Regions from separate parts of the Homo sapiens genome. Here all the other regions are linked to region 3. The links are contacts of gene promoters, found by promoter capture Hi-C in human tissues and cell types (Jung and others, 2019). All regions are on one chromosome and are shown on one strand. Each heading gives the region's core, a stretch centred on a gene start or on the middle of the fragment in contact. The rest is flanking DNA. Distances are from core to core; before and after follow the strand shown.

Evidence for each region. The method cuts DNA at HindIII sites, captures the fragments that hold promoters and counts their contacts. A contact is called where the count stands out against the background at its distance.
Region 1: a fragment that was not itself captured here is called in contact with the fragment with the promoter of COL16A1 in region 3 in 1 of the 25 tissues and cell types used here (spleen).
Region 2: a fragment that was not itself captured here is called in contact with the fragment with the promoter of COL16A1 in region 3 in 1 of the 25 tissues and cell types used here (IMR-90 fibroblasts).

The regions. Positions count from the first base shown.
Region 1 is chr1:32,045,583-32,049,955 of GRCh38, forward strand. It overlaps a transcript of KHDRBS1 not described here. Among named protein-coding and RNA genes, the nearest start is that of TMEM39B, 25 kb to the right of the region's middle. The HindIII fragment of the contact is 3,894 bases long and covers 394-4,287 here.
Region 2 is chr1:31,965,156-31,969,537 of GRCh38, forward strand. No RefSeq gene overlaps it. Among named protein-coding and RNA genes, the nearest start is that of PTP4A2, 29 kb to the left of the region's middle. The HindIII fragment of the contact is 5,460 bases long and covers 78-4,382 here.
Region 3 is chr1:31,700,510-31,705,402 of GRCh38, forward strand. COL16A1 (collagen type XVI alpha 1 chain) reads right to left here and starts at 3,508. Exons shown (of 71, transcript NM_001856.4): 1 at 3,328-3,508; 2 at 1,612-1,718. The coding sequence starts at 1,684. RefSeq lists an enhancer at 867-1,619. The HindIII fragment of the contact is 8,325 bases long and covers 2,707-4,893 here.

The sequences.
Region 1 (4,373 bases), core at 1,091-3,590, 340 kb after region 3:
TATCAACTTAGATCTGTTGAATCCCACTCTGTTTATCCTGTTAATAACCTGATGAGGTGGTGTTCCACTTGGAGTTCATTGGTTGCAAGCAACAAAGTGGCTAATGTAAATGAAAAAGACTTTATTAGAAAGGTGTTAAGGGCTCAATGTTCAGTGCGAAGGATAAAAAATCTGGTGTGGGAACTGTAGTGGCTGCAGGGAACTGGGACAACAGTGGTAGACCACAGGAACGATCTTGAAACAAGGACTGGCTCCTTGGGCACAACTCAAACTATGTTGGGTCTCTTTCTGCCTCTACTCAAGATTCAGGTTTTAGAGAGGGAATATCAGACTGGATTAGCTGAGTCACATGCGTAAGAAAAACCAGTTCCTCAAAAGGCAGTTGGTGAGTTGTTAGGAAAGGGAAATGGATGCTGGGCAGCCCAGAAACAATTGTCCAGTAATATCCATATTTTACAGAAGTAACTTAGACCTAGTGAAGTTAAGTAACTTCCCAGGGTCCCATAATTAGTATGGCTGGTACTCAAGCTCAAGATTTCTGTTGCCAAAACCTGTCATCTTAATCCTATACTATACTGTCCTTAATCTAGGGAAAGGGTATTTCTTTTTTTTTTTTGGTTTTTTTGGTTTTCTTTTGTTTTGTTTTTTTTGAGACGGAGCCCTGCTCCATTACCCAGGCTTGGCTGCAGTGGCGCAATCTCAGCTCACTGCAACCTCCGCCTCTGGGTTCAAGCAATTCTCCTGTCTCAGCCTCCCGAGTACCTGGGACTACAGGCACCTGCCACCACGCCTGGCTAATTTTTGTATTGTTTAGTAGAGACGAGGTTTCACCTTATTGGTCAGGCTGGTCTCGAACTCCTGACCTCAGGTGATCCACCCACCTTGGCCTCCCAAAGTGCTGAGATTACAGGCGTGAGCCACCACACCCGGCTGGGAAAGGATATTTCTTATACTTAGGAGGTCCTTCATAGGGATAATTGTGGTATAGAAGAAAGGATGTGGAGTTTGACTCCCTGGTTTGTGTAGTTGGGGGCTGTGACAACAGTGAGCTTTCCTGTTAATTGAAGCCATTAAGCAACTAACTGGCTGATTTTTTCTCTGCTCTGAGGTGTTAGGATTAGGATGACACTGAGGAGAAAGGCCTAACTAGGTAAGCCCTACGCATATAGAACCTTTCACAGTGAAATTTGGCTTCTTGGAATTTCTTTTTCTTCCAAGCCTGCCTCTCAGCCTGTGAGAGATCTGGAAGCTTTAAGAGAGGGGCATATGTACTGAACAAGATTCTGGGCACCTGGCAAGTCCTACGTTTGATGTTGGTCACATGAATGGCTAGGAAATTTAGCGTGGGGAATCCCTGAATGCAGAGAATTTAGTCTCAACTCTTCCTAGGGTAGTCTGAAGAAGAAAAATGGATTAGAAGTTTGGGGAAACCTTTCATTTGGACTGTGAACTGTGCTTGGAAAGGCAGGTTCTGTTTGTGGACCTAGGCCTGCTGGTGTTCTGCCTGTTCTGGACATGTAGCTTCGCCCATTGATCCAAGTGTTTTCTGTAAAATTCTATCACTCACTACCTGTGAACTTTATTTATTTATTTTAAGGTGGAGTCTCACTCTGTTGCCCAGGCTGGAGTGCAGTGGTGTGATTTCAGCTTACTGCGACCTCCACCTCCCGGGTTCAAGCGATTCCCCTGCCTCAGCCTCCGGAGTAGCTGGGATTATAGGCACACACCACCACGCCTGGATAATTTTTGTATTTTTAGTAGAGATGTGGTTTCACCATGTTGGCCAGGCTAGTCTTGAACTCCTGGCTTCAAGTGATCCGCCCACCTCAGCCTCCCAAAGTGCTAGGATCACAGGCGTGAGCCACTGTACCCGGCCAGCCTGTGAACTTTTATTACAATTCTGTAAGCTTTAGAGACAGGCAAGATTGGGTATCTGTCCTGGCTCTGCTTCATGTGAGCCTTTGTCACCTTAGTCAGAAACAAAACCCTTTCAGTGCCTCATTTATCATCAAATGAAGTTGATGATAATACCTGACATTTATCACTGTATGCATCATAATATCCTAACAGAGTTAGTAAGTATCTCATTTGGTCCCTTTCTACCTTTGTTTCTGTTTTGAGGAAAAATTCACATAGCATAAAATTTACAATTTTAAAGTGTACAATGCAGTAGTTTTTAGTATATTTATACTGTGCAACCATTTCCACTATTTAATTCCAGAATATTTCCATCACTCTAAAAACAAATCTTATATCTGCTAATAGTCACTCCCAACTCCCTTCTCTCCCCAGCTGTTGGCAGCCACTACTCTTTCTGTGGGTTTGCCTATTCTGAACATTCCATATAAATGGAATCATATAATATATGCTTTTTGGAATTGGCTTCTTTGACTTTGCATAGTGTTTGGTTCATCCAGGTTATAGCATGTAACATAGTACTTCATACTAGTCATAGGAAACATTACTTCCAAAAGCAGCCCATTTCATTAGAGATGGCTCTAAGTATTTTATCTCTCATTTTGAATGAGACCTGTACCTCAGTAATTTAAACTGAATCTGCTTTGGACCTCTGAAGCAACATCCTTTCAGGTATTTGAAGATCATTTTCATTACTGTGTCTTTCCCTTCTCTAAAAATTTTCTTGGCTGCGCATGGCAGCTCATGCCTGTAATCCCAACACCTGGGGAGGCTGAGTTGGGAGGATCACTTGAGGCCAGGAGTTCAAGACAAGCCGGGACAACATAGCAGACTCTGTCTCTACAAAAAGTTAGCTGGGCATTAGCTGGGCATGATGGCTTGCACCTCTTATCCTAGCTACTCAGGAGGCAGGGGAAGGAGGATCACTTGAGTCGAGGAGTTCAAGGTTACAGTATGCTATGATCACAACACTGTACTCCAGCCCGGGTAGAAAGTTTTTAAAATACTATTGGTCCCAATAAAATACATTTGCTGCATGCCAGATGTGGCCTTTAGCTTACCAGTTTGCAGCCTGTGGTTAGCTTCTGTTAGTATAAATTAAAGGTCATGTTAGCATTTTTAAGTGATTCTTTTTGGACAGACATAACTGTCCTAGTGGCAAAGAAGTCTAGAGTTTTGGCGGAATTTTAAAATAACAACTTTATTGAGATATAATTCACATACCATACTGTTCTCTCACTTAAAGTGTATAATTCAGTGGTTTTTAGTATATACAGAGTTGTTCAGTCATCACTAGGGCCCATTTAAAATGTCTTTATCATTCCAAAAAGAAACCCCATGCCTTTTATCTGTCTTCCACCAATCTATTTATTCCCTCCAGCCGTAGGCTACTACTCTGCTTTCTGTCTCTAAAGATGACAAGGGTTTAGCCTCCAGAAGGCTAAGTCCAAGGGTTTAGCCAGTCACAGAAGACCACTTTCTGTATGATTTCATACAAATGAAATTATACAATAAGTGGTCTTCTGTGACTGGCTTCCTTTTTGTTTTTTTTTTGTTTTTTTGGTTTTTTTTTGAGACGGGGTGTTGCTCTGTCGCTCAGGTTGGAGTGCAGTGGTGCGATCTCAGCTCACTGCAACTGCAACCTCCGCCTCCCAGGTTCAAGCGATTCTCCTGCCTTCCTGAGTAGCTGGGATTATAGGCACGCGCCTCCATGCCTGGCTAATTTTTGTATTTTTGGTAGAGGTGGGGTTTCACCGTGTTGGCCAGGCTGGTCTCGAACTCGTGACTTCAGGTGATCCGCCTACCTTGGCCTTCCAAAGTTTGGGATTACAGACGTGAGCCATCACGCTCAGCTGACTGGCCTCCTTTCACTTCGGATGTTTTCAAGGTTCATCCATGTTGTAGCATGTATCCCTACTTTGTTCTTTTTTTTTTTTTTACTGTTAAATGCGATTTCACTGTATGCATATACTACGTTTCATTTATTCATTGATCCATTGACAGGCATTTGGATTATTTCTACTTTTTGGCTATTATGAATAATACTGCTTTGAATATTTGTATATAAGTTTTTGTGTGGACATGTTTTCAGTTTCTTGGGTATATACCTAGAAGAATTTCTGGGTTCTGGGTCATACGGTGACTCTGTTTATTTTTTTATTTTTTATTTTTTTTTTTTTGAGACAGAGTCTCACTCTGTCGCCCAGGCTGGAGTGCAGTGGCACGATCTCAGCTCACTGCAACCTCCGCCTCCTGGGTTCAAGTGATTCTCCTGCCTCAGCCTCCCAAGCAGCTGGGAATATAGGCACGTGCCACCACACCCGGCTAATTCTTTGTATTTTTAGTAGAGACGGGGTTTCACCGTGTTAGCCAGGATGGTCTCGATCTCCTGACCTCATGATCCACCTGCCTCAGCCTCCCAAAGTGCTGGGATTACAGGCATGAGCCACCACGCC
Region 2 (4,382 bases), core at 1,558-4,057, 260 kb after region 3:
GCCTGGGTGACAGAGTAAGACTCCGCCCCAAAAAAAACCCCGAAAAAATACAACAAAAAAGCAAAAAAATTAGCTGGGTGTGGTGGCAGGCACCTGTAATCCCAGCTACTCGGGAGGTTGAGGCGAGAGAATCGCTTGAACCTGGGAGGCAGAGGTTGCAGTGAGCTGAGACTGCACCACTGCACTCTACCCTAGATGAGAGAAACTCTGTTTCAAAAAAAAAAAAAACAGAGACAGAATCTAAACATCCTTCAGTAGGACAGTCATTTACTAAAATGGAATAGTATGCAACTGTTTAAAATATTTCTTTATTCCTTTTCCACTCCCACAGCTTCACTTGACTTAACTAGCCTTAAAAAAAAAAAAAAAAGGGTCAGGCACAGTGGCTCACGGCTGAAATTCCATCATTTTGGGAGCCCAAGGTGCGTGGACTGCTTGCACTGAGGAGTTTGAGACCATCCTGGGCAACGTGGCGAAAGTTCTTCTATACAAAAAAATACAAAAAATTAGCTGAGGTGCGGTGGTGTGCACCGGTAGTCCCAGCTACTCAGGAGGCTAAGGTGGGAGGATCGCTTGAGGCTAGGAGGTTGACACTGCAGTGAGCTCTGATCACGCCACTGCACTCCAGCTTGGGTGACAGAGTAAGACTCTAAAAAAAAAAAAAATGAGGCTGGGCACAGTGGCTCACACCTGTAATCCCAGCACTTTGGGAGGCCAAAGCAGGCAGATCACTTGAGCTCAAGAGATCGAGACCAGCCTGGCGAACATGGCGAAACCCCGTCTCTACTAAAAATACAAAACTTAGCTGGGCGTGGTAGTGGGCGCCTGTAGTCCCAGCTACTTGGGAGGCCAAGGCAGGAGAATTGCTTGAACCTGGGAGGCAGAGGTGGCAGTGAGCCAAGATTATGCCATTGCACTCCAGCCTGGGCAACAAGAGCAAAACTCCCTCTCAAAAAAAAAAAAATGACAGATAAATCTATCTGGATGTGTTGGTATGGAATAATCTTCAAGATTCATTGTTAAGATTGTTTTTAAAAGAAAAAAATAAGTTTATGTGTCTGTTTAAAATAAGAATTTGTATAGATGTAGATATATCTATTTAGGTATGTATAGAACACATTGGAAGGAAACACCTCCAATAATGACTGCCTCTGAGAATGGAGGAAAGAGGGCATGGCAGTAGGAAGGAGAACTAATTCCTACTGGATATCCTTATGTACTATTAAATTCTCTTCTTTTTTTTTTTTTTTTTTTTGAGACAGAGTCTCGCTCTGTCACCCATGCTGGAGTACAGTGGCGCGATCTTGGCTCACTGCAAGCTCCGCCTCCCGGGTTCATGCCATTCTCCTGCCTCAGCCTCCCAAGTAGCTGGGACTACAGGCGCCTGCCACCACACCCAGCTAATTTTGTGTATTTTTTTGGAGAGACAGGGTTTCACCGTGTTAGCCAGGATGGTCTCGATCTCCTGACCTCGTGATCCACCCGCCTCGGCCTCCCAAAGTGCTGGGATTTTAGGCATGAGCCACCGCACCCAGCCTGTACTATTAAATTCTTTATCATGCACATTATTACATTTTCAAGGTAAAATTTATTTAAAATTTAAAATGTATTTCAAAAGACCTTTGGATATAATGGAATCAGAAAGACTTGGGTTCAAATCTAGACTCTGAGACTTACCAATTATATGACCTTAAGTAAATCACTTAACTACTTCGAACTTCAATTTTCTCATTCCTAAAATAGGATTAGTGGCCAGGCATGGTGGCTCATGCTTGTAATCCCAGCAGTTTGGGAGGCTGAGGCAGGCAGATCACAAGGTCAGGGGTTCGAGACCAGCCTGGCCAACATGGTGAAACCATGTCTCTACTAAAAATACAAAAATTAGCTGGACATGGTGGCACACGCCTGTAATCCCAGCTACTTGGGAGGCTGAGGCAGAAGAATTGCTTGAACCCAGGAGGCAGATGTTGCAGTGAGCCGAGATCATGCCACTACATTCCAGCCTGGGCAACAGAGTGAAACTCCATCTCAAAAAAAAAAAAAAATAGGATTAGTAACATCAACCTCATGGTATTATGAAGATTAAAGAAGCTTTTGGGAGCTGGGTGCAGTGCCTCACGCCTATAATCCCAGCACTTTGGGAGGCTGAGGTGGGCAGATCACTTGAGGTCAGGAGGTCGACATCAGCCTGGCCAACATGGTGAAACCCCATCTCTACTAAAAATACAAAAATTAGATGGGCGTGGTGGCAGGTGCCTGTAATCCCAGCTACTCAGGAGGCTTAGACAGGAGAATCACTTGAACTTGGGAGGCAGAGGTTGCAGTGGCATCCAGATTGGAGTAAAATTGTATTTGCAGATGACATGATCTCGAATATAGAAAATCCTAAGGAGTTCACAAAATACTATTAGAACTAATAAATGAGTTTGGTGAGGTTGCAGGATACAAGATCAATACACAAAAATCAGTTGAATTTTTATACACTGGCAATGAACAATCTGAAAATGAAATTGAGAAAATAATTTTTATTTACAATATCATCAAGAAGAATAATATACATAGGAGGAAATTTAACAAAAGAAGTATTATACAAGACTTGGATAGGCACGGTGACTTATGTCTGTAATCCCAGCCCTTTGGGAGGCTGAGGTGGGCAGATCGCTTGAGGCCAGGAGTTCAAGATCAGCATGGGTGATACAGTGAGACCTCGTAGCTACAAAAAAAATTTAAAAATTAGCTGGGCATGGGCTGGGCACAGTGGCTCACCCCCGTAATCCCAGCACTTTGGGAGGCCGAGGCGGATGGATCACGAGGTCAGGAGATCGAGACCATCCTGGCTAACATGGTGAAACCCTGTCTCTATTAAAAATACACAAAATTAGCTGGGTGTGGTGGTGGGCGCCTGTAGTCCCAGCTACTCAGGAGACTGAGGCAGGAGAATGAAACCCGGATGGCAGAGCTTTCAGTGAGCCGAGATCGTGCCACTGCACTCTAGCTTAGGCAACAGAGCAAGACTCCGTCTAAAAAAAAAAAAAATTACCTGGATGTGCACTCCTGTAGTCTCAGCTACTTGGGAGGCTGCGGCGGAGGATGGCTTGAGCATGGGAAGTTGAGGCTGCAGTGAGCCAAGATTGCACCACTGCACTGCAGCTGGGGCGACAGAGCAAGGCTCTGTCTCAAATATAAATAAATAAATAACAAGATTCAGACACTGAAAACTATAAAAATGTTAAAAGACTTTGCGTCTGTTTTTTTTGTTTGTTTGTTTGTTCGTTTGGTTGGTTGGTTGGTTGGTTGGTTGGTTGGTTTTATAGAGAGAGTCTTATTCTGTTGCCCTGGCTGGAGTGCAGTGGTGCTATCACAGCTCACTGCAGCCTCTAACTCCCAAGCTCAAGAGATTCTCCAGCCTCAGCCTCACAAGTAGCTGGGACTACAGGTGTATACCACCAAACCTGGCTAATTTTTTTCATTTTTTGTAGAAACAAAGTCTCACTATGTTGCCCAGGCTGGTCTTAAACTCCTGGGCTCAAATGCTCCTCTCGCCTCCACCTCCTAAAGTGCTAGGATTAGAGGCGTGAGCCTCCGCTCCTGGCCTGTTGAAAGAAATTTAATAAGACCTAAATAAATGGGAAGACATCCCGTGTTCCTATATTGGAATGAACAGATGGCATTCTGGGGAGTAAGATGGCAATACTCCCCAAACTGATCTACATTTTCAGTGCAATTCCTATCAAAATTTCAGCTGGTGTTTTTTTGGGTTTTTTTTGTTTTTGTTTTTGTTTTTTGCAGAAATTACCAAGCTGATCCTAAAATTCATATGGAAATGCAAGGGACACAGAATAGTCAAAATAATCTTGAAAAAAAATAGTTGGAGAACTCACTGATTTCAAAATTTATACATAGCCAAAGTGATAAAGACAATATGGTACTGACATAAGAATAAATATATAGGCCAGGCGTGGTAGCTCACGCCTGTAATCCCTGCACTGTGGGAGGCCGAGGGTGGGGCAGATCATCTGAGGTCAGGAGTTCGAGACCAGCCGGGCCAACATGGCAAAACCCCATCTCTACTAAAAATACAAAAATTAGCCAGGTGTGGTGGCACATGCCTGTAATCCCAGCTACTCATGAGGCTGAGGTGGGAGAATCTCTTGAACCCGGGAAGTGGAGCTTGCAGTGAGCTGAGATCATACCACTGCACTCCATCCTGGGCAACAGAGTAAGACTCTGTCTCAAAAAAAAAAAAAAAAAAAGAATAAATATATAGATTAATGGAATAGAACTGAAAGTCCAGAAATAAACCTTTACATTTGTGGTCAATTTTGAACAAATGTATGAAAACAATAACTGGATATTCACATGCAAAAAAAATTAAAATGAAC
Region 3 (4,893 bases), core at 2,258-4,757:
CCCTCCATGACATACACCCAGGTGGGGGGCAGAGGAGCTCTTCAGGGGTAAGGAAATGTCAGAATCATGCACATTGTGTGTTATGTACAATTATATGTACGTGTCTGTACATGTGGGAGTTGTAGGTGCCCATGCCACGAGGGATGACATGTGCAGCTGGCACACGTGTTCTCAGCAATAGGAACGTCCTACATCCAAATCAGACAAGCAGGCCAGACACAAGTAGGAGCCAACAGAATGAATATTTACCTGAATAACCACCTTGTGAAACAGCGAGAAGAGACTGAGGGTCTGAGGGGACCACAAGCTCAAGGGTACCACCAGGGCCTTGGAGCTCCAGGAAGGGCATATTAATGGGTTAGGGCTCCCAGAGAAGGAGATAGCTTAACTCAGGTTTCCAAAGCCCTGAAAGAACAGGTGGGCAGCCATGGGCCTCCCTCGCCCTGGGGCTGACTGAGCAGAAGTGTTGGGGGAGGTGCTACAACAGGAAAGACAGAGGCCAGAATCAAAAAGGCCTTCTCATCAATGCAGAGGGATAGGTGGGAGAAGACGGTGAAGACAGCTCCTAGAAGCTGGCCTTGCACTCTCTGGCTAGACTGGCTGGAAGAAGGAATCCTGGGGCCCTGGGGCCCGGTGCCAATGACCCCACTGCACTCTCCCTCCCCCAGGTCTGGTCAGAAAGACCATCACTGTCTTCAGCATCACAGCAGCAATGGGTGACTCACCCCTTGGCAATGGGCCCAGATTCCTTACAGATGTTGAAATTATCTGCCCCATCCCCCCCAGGGGACCCAGTGAGGGAGAGGAGAGCAAAGCTCACGCACACACAAGCAGAAACACATATGTGCACATACAAGGGGCAGGCGGCCACACTCACCCTGGGTCCACAATCCCTTTCACCTCAGCTTCTTGGTTTTTCTGCTTTTCCTAGCTGGGTTTGGGTCCTAGGAGTTCTGTTCCTGCTTGGCGAAGCAGCTGAGCTACTGAGCCCAGAGGGCACCCAGCAAGGCCAGGCAAGTTGCCCGGTCAACTTCCCCTGGCTTTGGGCCCTGGAAAGCTGCACCCTCTGTCTCATCCAGAGTCTGGGCCTCGGGGTGGGCCTTTTATTAGAGATTCAGGGCCAGCCGTGGAGGAGGAGAAGCACGTGAGCTAGAGGGATGGAGTCTCCACCATGAAAAGGATCAGCAGGACTTGGGGTTCTCTGGGGAGGCGGCGTCCTTCTGCAGGGAGAGCTCACTGCCTGTTCCTCCCCACCCCACTGGTCCTACCAGCAATGTGTCCACAGGATTGGCTTACGTATTGGGGTGGGAGGTTGTTCTCTTACACACAGAGACACAGGAATACATACGAATGCACAAAGCCAGTCTGAGAGACAAACACAGAGATGCTCAGAGACATAAACGTACGAAGACACAGGCACACACACTCTCCAGCTCACTGCACACAGGCTCAAGGGTGCCAACACCTCAGATCACCCTGAGCCCAGCCCCTAGACTCTGCTATAACTGCCCACACGACCACACATACATGGTCACATATGTGCAAGGACCCCAGCACCCCAGGATACCAGTTGCAGGCCTGTGATACTGTGACTCTCCTGTGTCATCTCACCTGTATTTGCCCCATGGCCGAAGGTAGCCCAAAGACCGAGCAGCCACAGGCCAGGAGCCCAGGATACCCACATCCCGGTCCAAAGAGGTCAGCTACAGCCACAGCACCTGAAAACCACAGAGACCGGGAAGGCGGATTTCTGAGTTCACACAGCACAACTCCACACGTGGGCAAGTCGTGGACAGCCTGTGGGGCCCAGGCACTGGTATTGGGGTGGCAGGAGGTCTGGCCAGGCATCAGTCTCTCTCAGAGGCCCAACCACAGCCCTTGGGCTAGGATTTGAGCAGAGGCGATATTCAAAATATTTAACCACCGGTATGGCACGGATACCAGCTTTCAGGCAAAGCAGAAAGCTGCCTACTGCACTGAAATAGTGTCCAGGCAGCATCTGGCTGTGCCAGTGGATACTTGCTGGATTGGGAGAGGTCTAGAAGGTCTTAGAAGGCCAGAGAAGTTGGAATAGTGATGAGGGCTTAAAGAAGAGGCTATTCTTCAAGACACGTGGAAGTATTTCAAGTCTAGCATCTTGTGCACTGTCCTGGTATATATACCAGCCTGATACCTTACTAGCGCACCCAGCTCAGCCCAGGAAGCCCTCCCAGGCACCCACAGGGTCAGGGGCTGGTGACTGGGCTGAGATTGTGGGCCACAGCCTTCCATAGGGCTGTGTGGGGGCCAAGGAAGCTTTCCCCATAGGTATAGTGGGCAGGAGAGCAGGTCTCTAGGGCTCAGGACCTCATTGCCAGCCACCCCCGCCCCCAGCTGATGGATGCTTGTCTTTTAGTTTTATTAAACCCTGATGGATGGGCCCAGATAAATCGATGCAGGCTCAGCAAGTGGCCAGCAGAGCCATACATCGTCTGGCCTCCCCCAGGACAGGCAGCTCACGTGCACAAACACAGAGCCATGCATGTGTCAGCACAGCACATGCAGATGCGCAGGTACATGTACATAAGGACACATATGTGGTACCAGTGTGCATACAAAGCTATCTGCACACAGGCATGCTCACGGAAACATATGCTCGCTGATATACCCAGACACACCAGCTTGCATATACCCACATGCGCACAGCCAGCCTATGACCACTCCTCCTGTAGGTCTTCCTGTTGGGAAGTTCTAATGCAAGTCTGACTGCATTCCTTCCAACTCTAATGAAATCCAATTTTCCTTCCCTCAATCATGGATAGGAAATGAAAACAGAAAGGACCCCTTACCCCAATATATTTGGAGATAGGACTCCAGCCCCCTTCTCCCTGGGACAGAACTGTGCCCCCAGCCTGCCTATTCATCCCCCATCCTAGTGATATACACATCCCAGCTCTCAAACCCTATCCTGGTCTTCCTCCTGCCAGCCAATAGAAGGGCTGCCAGCTGTGGCGCCATGTGGGTGCATGTGGAGGCGTGAGGATGGATGTGATCCTGTCCCCTTCCGGCTCCTAGTCTCTGGTCGCCACTCCTCAGGCTCCAGCCAGAGTGCAGGGCTGCAAGGACAGAGCCAGAGAAGCTTCCAAGGAGACGGCTCACCCCAACACAGAGGCATAGATTTGGGCGCAGGGAGTCAGAACCAGGATGGAGTTTAGAGCTCATCTCGCTCTAGAGAAGACGACCAAGGCCCAGAGAGGGAATGCCACTTTCCTCAGGTCACACAGCAAGTCTGGCAGAAAGGGCCTCTCAGCCCAGAGCCCTGAGGCCGCCCACTGTATCCCTACTTACCGGTGGCCGGGGATCCCCCCACCTCACTGAGCAGTCCAGGCAGCAGGCGGAGGAAGCAGAGCCCAGGTTCCTCAGGTCCGCTAGGGGTTCTCTATCTCTCCGTGACGGTCACGGGTCCCCAGCTTCCTGGCGCTCGAGCTCTCCCGGCTGTCTGCTGCCCGGCGCACGCCTGCCGGGGACTGCCGGCCACTCCGGGTGGGGGAAGAGAGGCGGTTCCAGGGGGCTGGGGGCCTGCCAGGGACACTAATGGAACACAGCTGGACCGGCCCGCCAGGGAGGAGGAGGAGGAGGGCCTAGAGGGGGCTCCAGCGGCACCAGAGGCGGCTAGACTGCGGGGTGCACAGCCCCGCCCCGGGTCTGGCCGAGCTCCCAGGCCCGCCCCTCCTGCCTCACCGCCAGGTGAGCGATCCTCGAGCTAGGCGGGACCCTACGTGCCCAGAGCTGCCCTGGAAGGGGGCTCCTGCGGGCCCTTTAAGAGTCAGGCCTGGAGTTTGAAGAGCTCCCCCTTTCCATGTCCCTGGCTGGGCCCCCAGAAGGCTGCGGGGTGGGGGGGCGGGGAGGGGACAGGGGTGGAGGGAGCAGGGTAGAGACCCTCCTCCCAAGTGCGTGGCACCCATGATGTGGCTGCCGCCCAAGCCTCGGTGGTCAGCTTTTTCCAATTCCTCTGCCTAACATTCCCAGTCAGTCTGTCCCTAGGTCTGTCTGTACTGGGAGGAGGAGGGTGGGAACCCCCTCCCTCCTCCGTGCTAAATTAACCCCCTCTGCTCTGGCCTGACTCCCAGAGAAGTGAGACTGAGGGAGTCCCCTTATTCCTCCTTACTCCATGAGGTTGGAAGGGCTCAAATCCCTGGCCCCTGCTCTGGCTTTGCGGTTCCAAATGTGCTGTGTAACCATACTCCGTTTTCTCATCTGGAAGATGGGATCGTGAGAGTATATGCCTCATAGACCTTTGCTGTAAGCAGGAAATGGGCCAAAGGCTGTAAGCGCTTAGCACACGGTCTGGCACATGAGAGGAGCTCAGTAAATATTTGCTGCTATTATCGTTATTACTGTGATCCCTGGCAGGGGACGGGACTGGATTTCAAGCCTTTACACCAGCACTGGGGAGGGACCTGCTTTATATTCACGGTCCAAGGACGCAAGAGGAATTGAGCTGGGCTGAAAGATTGGAGCTCTGAGGAGGAAGGAGCCGGTAATGTTCCGAGTTCTGCCCAGAGGCAGGGCCGTTGACCAAGGTGGAATCCCCACCAAGGGTCTCCTCCCGCTGTAGACCGAAAGCAAATTTATTGGCACCAAGGCTGAGGATCCACAAAGTAGGTTCAAGAGGCCATGAGATGCTGGGCTGAAGAGGGAGAAACTGAGCGTCCCCAGTTGAGGGGGGCTCTGGGGGCTCTGTGGAAGCAACGCGCCTAGCCCTGTGGCCTCGGCTAACCCGGGGTAGGGGGAGGTTGTAGGGGCAGGCCTGGGATTTCCCGCCTCCAGACCCAGAGGCGCTGAGTCAGCGGAAACCCCAACCACGCCACAGAGGCGCCCCACTGTGGTCCCAGTGAGGAGCTGGCCCCAGAT